2 separate regions of the Homo sapiens genome follow, and region 1 is linked to region 2. The links are contacts of gene promoters, found by promoter capture Hi-C in human tissues and cell types (Jung and others, 2019). All regions are on one chromosome and are shown on one strand. The core of a region is centred on a gene start or on the middle of the fragment in contact, and the rest is flanking DNA. Distances in the headings are between cores, read along the strand shown.

Region 1 (5,077 bases), core at 1,361-3,860, 630 kb after region 2:
TAGAAAATAAGTTGGGAATCTTGATTTCAAGGCTGTAGGAGTAAGGAATGCAGCACAAAAATTCAATGAAAATAATTTAGATCATAAAGTTTTGGTTGGAAGTAGGCAGAAAACTAGATATAAATGAGTGATTCTTATAGGCATAGCTAAAGGTTATAATGTTTTATAGTACAGAAAAAAGGTAGCCAGGGAGCTAAAGGAGGATGCTTTCTATGCAGATTTGGAGAGAGAGCACATTACTTTATCATCAATCATAGTATCTCTGCCTCCTAATGACTAGTATTTTGGTGGAAATTCACAGGCAAGCAAAGCTGACAAAGAGTTTGGGATCCTGAATTATAAATAAAGATAGCAGGTGCCAAATCCAAATATGTATAGTGCCAGTACATGAAAAAAAAATCAAAATATAATTTGAAGAATTCCAAGTTCCAAAAGAAAGGGCTATATAATATATATGTATATTATATATATACACATATATATTTATATTTATTTTAGAGATGGGATCTTGCTATGTTGCCCAGGCTGACATTGAACTTCTGAATTCTAGGGATCCTCCTGCCTCAGCCTCCCAAGTAGCTGGGACTACAGTTACCTGCCACCATGCCTGTCCAGAAAGATATGTTTTCTAAGAAGAAAATAGAAAATTACAACAGGCACAGGAAAATAGAAAATGGAAAAAAATCTGTAACTGAAAAAGCAGAGAAATTTGGGGGGAAAGCTAATCATTAAAATAAAAAGAGTAATTTTTATATACACATATTCAAACTTAAAGAACGATTTTCAGGGCCCAGCTTGGTGGCTCACGCCTGTAATCCCAGCACTTTGGGAGGCCAAGGCGGGCAGATCACCTGAGGTCAGGAGTTCGAGACCAGCCTGGCCAACATGGCAAAATCACATCTCTACTAAAAATACAAAATTAGCTGGGTGCGGTGGCAGGCGCTTGTAATCCCAGCTACTCAGGAGGCGGAGGCAGGGGAATCGCTTGAGCCTGGGAGGCAGAGGTTGCAGTGAGCTGAGATCGCACCACTGCACTCCAGCCTGGGCAACTCTGTCTCAAGAAAAAAAAAAAGAATGATTTTCAGAAATCAAATCTAAGTCCTGTCAAGTGTTTTCAGGTTTGTTGGAAAGGATATACAGGTATAAGACAACCTTATTCACCAAGAATGGGTTACAGTCTCTGTTTTTCATTCTTTCCAGCCAAGTCCCTATGCCCACTACCCTCACAATAAGTGTGATCCTTGGAAGGGATCCTGCAATCTTGTGGACATTTATTTTTTGTTGTTGTTGTTGTTGTTTGTTTGTTTGTTTGTTTGTTTGTTTTGAGACAGAGTCTCGCTGTTGCCAAGGCTGGATAAAAGTGGTGAGATCTTGGTTCACTGCAACCTCTGCCTCCCAGGTTCAAGCGATTCTAATGCCTCAGCTGGGATTACAGGCATGTGCCACCACACCCAGCTAATTTTTGTATTTTTAGTAGAGGCGGGGCTTCACCATGTTGGCTAGGCTGGTCTCCAACTCCTGACCTCAAGTGATCTGCCCACTTCGGCCTCCCAAAGTGCTGGGATTACAGGCATGAGCCACTGTGCCTGGCCAAGATTTGTTGTTTAATGTTGACTTTTGGTCAGGCACAGTCGCTCATGTCTGTAATACCAGCACTTTGGGAAGGTGAGGTGGTAGGACTGCTTGAGGCAGAGAATTAGAGACCAGCCTGGGCAATATAGTGAGACTTCATCTCCACAAATATTTTTAAAAACTAGCTAGCCCTGGTGGTGCACACCTTTGGTCCCAGCTGCTCAGGAGGCTGTGATGGGAGGATCACTTGTGCCTGGGAGGTTGAGGCTGCAATGGGCCATGATCAGCCTGGGCAACAAAAGTGAGACCCTGTCTCAAAACAAACAAACAAACAAAAAGCAACTTGATTTTTAATGCCAGATTATTTCTTTTTCTCTCCAGTGTTCTGCTGTATTTCCTCCCTACCCTTGACTGAAGCTTCCCTTGAATCACAATATTCTTGTCATTGAGACTCTCTCTCAGCCTGCAGCCGTGGTAGAAGAAAAAAGGGAAGAGAACCCGAAGGCATTTGAGACATCTCCTTGTCGGTCTCTCCAACAACAGTGGCTAGAGACTCTCTGTATTCCCTGACTCTCAATCCTGAGCGGAGGACAGAGCCCAGAGCAGAGTCCTGGGAAGCACAGGGGCTGGCTGAAGGGAAAGGCGGACGCGCGGGGCCGCAGGGCGGCGCCTGGGAGCCAGGCAGCACCCTGGGCCGATGCGCGGAGTGCTGGAGGGCGGCGCTGCGGAGCACGCCTCTGTGGAAGGCACGCCTCTGTGGCTGGAACCAAAAGGGAGGTGGATGGCGTTCAACTTTGACAGAAGCCGAGGACTGCAAAGAGACGGCCTGGTAGAACCACAACCCTGATGCTGTCTCGACCTGGGCACAGTTAATAATCAGGGCAGGTTAATAGGTAGTCACCCGGACACTGATAGGTTTCCTGCCGAATGTTGAAAGACTGCGAAGAAGCCTCCCTGGGGACAGTGACCAAACTCTCCTTTGAAGGCAAATTTCCATTCTCTTGGGAAAACACAGCCTTGCAATCCAGGGACATTTTTGGAAGGCAGCTTGGTGATCTTTTGCTGTTACAGATTAGGTTTGCCCCCATGAGAGTATCACCCCCACCACCACATCTCAAAGCAGCTTATCAAAGAATTCCCTCCAATGCTTCCAGCTCTTTCTCTGAAAGCAGTTCTGGTAAACTCAGTTTTCATTTTCTCATTATGTTTGCAGTGCTATTTTAGTGTCCCACTCACTAACCGAGCTCTGACAAAGAGGAACGAGAAGGTGTGAACTCAGGGCTGCCTCCTAGGATGACTGGGACTGTGCGCCACACAGGACACGCGGCCCTGGTGGGCTCCCAGCCCCGCGGGCCCGCAGCTGCTCAGCAGCCTGTGCACCCCTGGGGCTGTGGGCACCTAAAGAAGAGAGCCTAGGCTCCAGATGGAAGCTTGCTGGTCAAAAAAGTCAAAAGTGGCCGGCGTGGTGGCTCATGCTGTAATCTCAGAACTTTGGGAGGCCGAGTTGGGCAGATAGCTTGAGGTCAGGAGACCAGCCTGGCCAACATGGCAAAACCCCGTCTCTACTAAAAATACAAAAATTAGCCAGGCGTGGTGGCGCTGCCTGTACTGTGGTCCCTGCTACTCAGGAGGCTGGGGCAGGAGAATTACTTGAACCCGGGAGGTCGAGGTTGCAGTGAGCCGAGATTGTGACATTGCACTCCAGCCTAGGCGACAGACTGAGGCTCTGTCTCAAAAAAAAAAAAAAAAAAAAGTGTGATGCTCTTTCCGGAGCTGGGATCACCTAAATTTGCAGATTAAAGATCTGAAAACTTGAAAATAGAAAATAGTGACCCATACTCTCTCATTTTCCTAAGACTTTCCGATCTCCAATGGAAGGCCGGAGAAAGGAGGGCTACAGAGGAGGAAAACCACTTCTTACCTGTGTGGGGTAAATGTGCCTTTCTGCTGCTCCTGAAAATAGGGTCAGGTGCTCACTGAAGTTTACTGCTGCATGTATAGGCAAATCCAGTTGCAGTTTTCTCAAACAATTCTTGTCTTGGGAATTGCTTCCTTGGGAGAAAACCCACTGGTGGATAGAAAATCAGAAGATTCAGGCTCGGGCTTCACTTTTGTCATTGGTTTTGATGTGGTCAAATCATTCTTTCTGGGTTTGTTTCCCTGTGCTTAAATACATCTGCTAACATTTTAAAAATAATTTACTATGTATCTGAAATAGTGCTGGGTAAGCCATTGCATGTATTATCACAATGCGACAATACATTAAAATAGGTAATATTCCCATTTTACAGAACGTCAATTAGAATTTGCCCAAGATCACACAGCAGATACTTTTAAATGTGCATAGTGTCCACTACAATATGCCACTGCCTCTTAACATGGGGCTAATAACATATAACTGGTTAGGTACAGGGCCACCTTAGACACTGCACAGTTCTGTGGCTTGGAGATGTGCAGTGTCAACTTGGTTAGTTGTACACAGGGCCTTGATTAGGTCCACCCACAGTGTCCTATACATATTTGTTATTACACTGATTATGTTATATTGTAATGTAATATTTTATATTTATATATATATGTTATCCACACATCCTGCTTCCTTTGCTTGGGGTATAAATGATGTCATTCCACATGGTGTCCCATCTTCCTTGATGGGCTTCTTCACCCTTGACAGAGGCCACTCCCCTGCTATGAACCTGAGTGCCAGGAATGCACATGTATATCCGAAGGGGTAGCCCCAGATACACTTACCTCACTTACAGAAGCCGGAACTGAGGCTGGAAGAGTCTACACTCCTCGTGCTGGATGCCTCCAGAGTCCCACAGCTGACACCATGGTTACTGAAACCAGAGCTCTGATGCGGCTACTGAAATCTGGCAAAATGGAATGATGCTCAGGCTAAGCCTCCTGCTCCACTGCAGCCACCACCACTCGTGCACCATAAAGCAACATTTCCTCGAGATGGGAGGGTGGGTTGCTACTTCCCTCAGTGTCTCACTCAGCTGTGTTAGCCAGGGATCCCAGTGTGGTGGCATTTCCAACGCAGCTGGGGGATGGGCAGGGGAGGGCACAAGTTCCATCAACTGCTGTGGATCCAGAACACCCATCCCTCTTCTAACTCCAAGCCCTGGGTGCAGAGGCCACACTGTACTAGTCTCATCTCCAACTTCTGCCAGGCTCATTTCCCCCATTCAATGAAGTGGAACACATTTAAAGTACAAAGGTGAGGGGTCGCTCTCTTGGTGCTATTCTTCCCCAGCTAAAATGTCTCCTTGTTGTTTTCACCTCCCCACTCCCCTGCACTGTGAGCTGGCTGAAGGCTCCTCTTCACATTGGTCATGGTTTTGCCACAATGCATGGCCCACAGAAAGCACTGGAACATTCACAAATGAACATCATTTCCCTTCTTGATTCTCTGTGTTTTATTTATTTATTTTGAGATGGAGTCTCACTCTGTCATCCAGGCTGGAGTGCAGTGGCACCATCTCAGCTCACTGCAGCCTCT
Region 2 (5,191 bases), core at 2,124-4,623:
GACAGGAGCCAGCCAGCTACTATGTGTTTAGGGAGTGATGCTCACTCCAAAGCCTACTCTCGTTCTTCCGCAGCAGTGCTTCTCAAACTTTGACCAAAGCACGCGGACAGTAGGGGAGAATGGATTCTATCTGCAGGAAGAAGACAGAGTCCAGGGCTGCGAGTTTTCATTCAAAGTTCACACTAAACTTCACACTATTCTTATGTCTGTTTTAATATAAAGAAATACGCTTTGAAATGCACATTTCTTTATACTAAACCTCCAGCACCTTCTACCCCTCCTTTTATTTTTCCCTTACTTTTTCATGTAGACACTTAATGCCTCCACAAAATCATATTGTTCACTTATCTTCTTTGATTATTGTCTGCTTCCTCCCCGAGGGAGGGTTATTTTGTTCGCTGCTGCACGCCAGCACCAAGAACAAGACCTGGCACTTGTCAGGACTCAACAAATCCATGCAGAATGAACGATGAAATGTTTTAGATGAGGATGTGTTCAATCCAACTGTTCTGGAGGGGCTCCTTCTTTATCCCATGGCTCAGAGGCACATTTCCTCATTCTGAGTGGCAAGCGCTCCCAGTTTTGGAAGAAAAAAATGTGTTACACTTAGGGAATGTGGGGGAAAGAAGCAGCAATGACTCTTCCCCACTTGCTTGGCATCACAAGATACTTTTTGACTTCTGAGCCCATGTCATGCATGTAGTGTGTCATGTGCCCACATCATGAGATCTTTTCTTGATTCCTGATGAGTTAATTTGATTTTATTCCCACTAAGTGTCCTCTGATTTAATGAGGGTGGTCTTCAGTGGCCTGCACTTGCCTAGACAATGCTGCTCTCCCTGCCTGAACAGATCCTTCTCATCCCTCAAAGCCCAGCTTGGGTGAAACCTCTTTTTTGACATTAGCCTTCATTTAATGGTTTGAAAGCCAAGGCCAGGTCTTTTTTTTTTTTTTTTTTTTTTTTTTTTCCCATTCAGAGGCAGCCTTTCCAGCAATGTGGGGCCAGGGAATGGATGTCTATGAAGTCTATTGAAGTGGCCTAAGAGAAACAATAAGCTGATTTCAAAGCATATACAGCAATTTTAAAAGAATGTACAATAGTGTATCATCTTTCACTAAGTCACAAATGCCAATCACCAATTCATTTAACTCTGTATTTCCTCTAGGTTCTCAGGAAAACATTTACTTTCTTTCATCTATAGCAATTTTAGGCACAAAAAGCTACATGCTTGGCCTGACCATGGTCCTCCGATGACAAGTTGTTGGTCTTTAAAAGCACATTTTGCTAGTTACTGACATTACTGAGCTTACTTAAAAGAGAGCTACCTTGTTATTCTCTGAGAGTATCCCAAGCCACCTTGTTTACCTACCATTACAATGTTTAGTATGATAAGCCCGCATATAAACCCTAGCTTGTCCCAGGCACTCTTGTAAGCTGATTGCATTTATTCACTCATTACTCTGCAAAACAACTTTACTACTATGATCCCCATTTCACAGATGAGGAAACAGGCACAGAAAGAGGATGAGTAAAAGTAAAGCTGGTAAGTTCCAGAGTCAGGATTCGGACCTAGGTGCTCCTGAGACCATGTGCCTAACTACTAGCCAGCTTGCCTCACACCTTTGTCCTCCTCCACCTCCTCCATACCTGTCTGCCCACCCCTTGCCCCGATCTTTCCTTTTCATGGCCAGAGAAAGATCCTGCTGCCTCACTCTAAAATCATCTCCCAAATCAACGAAGCTAAATTTCTTCCAATTGGGATGAAACCACCTTAATGTTCTTTCTTAATTCTTTGCACACTCTAGCTGATACTGATTATTCACTTATTGGCTAGCCCCTGCTATTCCATGCTTTGATCAGACACACCCATCTCTTAATGTTCTGTTTTCTTCTCTCTGAATTCCTGAACAGAATATTTACAAATATAAAGTCCAACAAGAAAATGGTGTGATCTAAATGGGGTTTCGGAAACATAAATCTGGTGGTGGCATCTGAGGAGGGAAAGGGAGGGTGTGTGGGTGAGAAAATGGGTGTGTAGAACTGTTAGAAACTTCCACTTTTGAAGTCACAAAATGCTGTAAGAGCTTTGGGAATGGAAAGGAAGGGGTGGATTCAAAATGCATTTTAGAAAGAACAATGGGTTGGACTTGTGGGCAATTGCCTCTAGGGATAAGGTAGAGAAGGGAGTTAAAATGATACCGCTATTTTGGGCTCAAATGATTATAATGAGAGTTTCATCACCTGAAATAGGTACATCAGGAAGCTAATCTGATTCAGGGAGAACAAAAAGTTCATTTTAGAATCTTTGTCATCATCCCTGTTCAACAGTTGGAAGCCACCATAAGTGAGCATTTAATGAGCCCCATTCAAGTGTCTAACAGAGCATATGATGTTAAATGTCCAACAATAATTAACTGAAGGTGAATACACCTTTTATTCTGGCCCCACGGAGGTGCCTACCAGGGTATTTGATGCGTAAGATCCTCCCCAGCCCTCCTCTACAGGGATGGAATTGGGGGTATGATTTGAATGTAAGAAATACGACTTAAGGCCGGGCACGGTGGCTCACACCTGTAATCCCAGCACTTTGGGAGGCCAAGGCAGGCAAATCATCTGAGGTCAGGAGTTTGAGACCAGCCTGGCCAACATGGTGAAACCCTGTCTCTACGAAAAATACAAAATTAGCATGGCATGGTGGAGCGCGCCTTTAATCCCAGGTACTCAGGAGGCTGAGGCAGGAGAATCGCTTGAACCCAGGTGGCGGAGGTTACAGTGAGCCCAGACCATGACATTGCACTCCAGCCTTGGCAACAAGAGCGAAACTCCATCTGAAAAATAAAGAAATATATATAAATAAAAATTAAAATAAATAAAAGAAGAAATACCACTTACTACATAGCCTAACCCCACGCAATAGCAAATATATTTTCTTTATCACACCTAAAAATCGTCAGAAAATGGCAAAATTAGTCATGTTATGTGCTTGATTTCCAGATTTGGTCTTACTTCATATTAATTTCTTAAGTAACCAACTCAAACGATCTTGAACTCCCACCCATTTGTTTCTTCAAAGTCCTGAACAATGCCAGAAGAGAGTCTACAGATCAGACAGTGCAAACAGAAAGCTTCTTGGAATTCAGCCATTAAAATCAGGCACTCAAGGTAGAATAGCAGGAGTAAAAGCTGAAAGACCTACACACTCAGCACAGAGCCAAGGCAGCTCAATCGCAGGGCCTAGAGTGGTGCGTTCAAAGAGTGTGAGATTGGTAGACAATCGCTCATGAAACAGTGTTTCGAAAATCTAAGCGACTCTGATGATTCATATTAGGAATTCATCCCAAACCTCAGATTGGTACACCTTCCTTGATTTCACACAAGCTCAGGAGTAGCTGCCATGCACATCAGTGTCCATTAAAATGACTTGTAGCAAATCTCTACGTTCAAAGTCTAACTTTGACAGACAACCTTACTTCCAGCGAAGTCTACTCCCCTCCCTCCGGAGGGAAGAATGGGCTGCGGTTAAGCGTTTGCCCTGGTGTCAGGGCCAACTGCTTCGAAGCGCCAGACTTTCGGAGACTGTGGGTAAGAGAAAAAAAAAATCCAGTCCGGGTTTTGTCTGAGCGGGGGGACCGGAGGGTTGTGAGGAATGGCTCGCGAAGAGGGGGGCGGTGGTGGAAAACATACAACACAAACAGCTCGCGCCGAGGCACGGCAGCGGTAGGCCCGGAGCGCGCGGGCGCAGCCGGCCGGGAGAGGCGCGCGCGGGCTCGGCCGCCGGCCGCATGGAGCGCAGCGCGGCCCGCGGCTCCCGGGCGGCGGCGGCGGCGGCGGAGGCGGCAGCGCGCCGCTCGCTCACACCCACCCCCGCCCGCGGCCGCCGCGCCGCCCCGCCGTAGCCGCCGGCCGCCGGCGTCCCCGCCGGCCGGTCCAGCGAAGGCGGCGCCCGCGCCTCTGCAGCCAGTGGCAGCCGCGGGTCCTGGCCGGCGGCTCCTGCAGCCCCTTGCGGCCGCGAGTCCCCGGCCCTGCGGCCACCGGCGGAGGCAGAGGAGGAAGAGGAGGTGACAAACTCTCCGGCCCCGCGCCGCGGCCCGCAACCCCGCGCTCAGGCATGCAGGCGCGGCGTCTAGCCAAGCGCTCCAGCCTGGGCAGCCGCCGGGGGGGCGCCGCGCTGCAGCCTGCCGGGCCGGCGCCCGCGCCCGCCAAGGAAGCCGCCCTACCCGGGCTCCCGCCCCCTGTCCCGGGCCCGGCCCCGGCGCCCGCCCCGGAGAGCTGGAGGCCGCCGCTGCCGCCGCCGCCGCGCAGCGCCGGGACCGGCCCCCCTCGGGCCACCGGGGCCGCCGCCGCCGCCTCGTCGCCGGTGCTGCTGCTTCTAGGGGAGGAAGACGAGGACGAGGAGGGCGGGAGCAGGCGGCGGAGGGGGCTCGGGCGTGTGGAGGAGAAGCCCCGAGGGGGCGCGGAGGAGGAGGATGACGACGAGGAAGAGGAGGACGAGGAGGTGGTCGTCGAGGTGGTGGACGGCGACGAAGACGACGAGGACGGCGAGGAGCGTTTCGTGCCCCTCGGACCCGGCCACGCAGTCCCCAGGGGCCCGGCCCGGGGCGCGTTGAAGGTGCGTGTTGGGCGCGGTGGCGCGCGTGGGACCCGCCAGCCCGGGGAGGGGGACGGGCCCGGGCCCCGGGGCAAGGCGCCTGGCCGAGGACGGTCAGCGGCGCCGGGGAGAGACCCGGCCAGGAGGGGTGTGTCAGGCGGCGCGGGCGGCCGCGCGGGGCAGCGCGAGGAACTGTTGATTTGCCTGCGCCTTGGGCCCCTGCGTCTCTCCCAGGCGGCGGCTCCCGCTTTCCTCAAAGGCCGTGTCGGGTTTGTTGTTTGGTGTGGGTGCCGGGAAAGGGCGCTTCTCCCCAGTGAGGTGGGGAACTTGGGTGATGGGACCACGGAGGCGCCGGTTCGTGCCCGGTGGGGACGGGTGAGGCAGGGGAGAGTGAGATTTTATTCTCCCCCAAGGAAGGAGTGTCCCCTTCTCCTTATTTTGAGGGCTATTCAAGCTTATTGAAACCAGAAAGCGGTGTTTCTTGTCAATCTCTCAGCCCCTTCTTCCAACCAAGAACAATTGTCGATGAGTTTCCATCACAGGCGCTTGTGAGAGAACCGGTAAACCCAGTACAGCAAAATCCAAGCCCTTGGTTTCCACAT

What was found. The method cuts DNA at HindIII sites, captures the fragments that hold promoters and counts their contacts. A contact is called where the count stands out against the background at its distance.
Region 1: a contact is called between a fragment that was not itself captured here and the fragment with the promoter of ZNF704 in region 2, in 1 of the 25 tissues and cell types used here (heart left ventricle).

What each region holds. Positions count from the first base shown.
Region 1 is chr8:80,237,960-80,243,036 of GRCh38, reverse strand. MIR5708 (microRNA 5708) reads right to left here and starts at 1,648; the gene lies at 1,564-1,648. RefSeq lists silencers at 2,153-2,232, 2,243-2,302. The HindIII fragment of the contact is 5,704 bases long and covers 1-5,077 here.
Region 2 is chr8:80,872,963-80,878,153 of GRCh38, reverse strand. ZNF704 (zinc finger protein 704) reads left to right here and starts at 3,373. Exons shown (of 9, transcript NM_001033723.3): 1 at 3,373-3,583. RefSeq lists a silencer at 4,494-4,694. The HindIII fragment of the contact is 4,011 bases long and covers 1,363-5,191 here.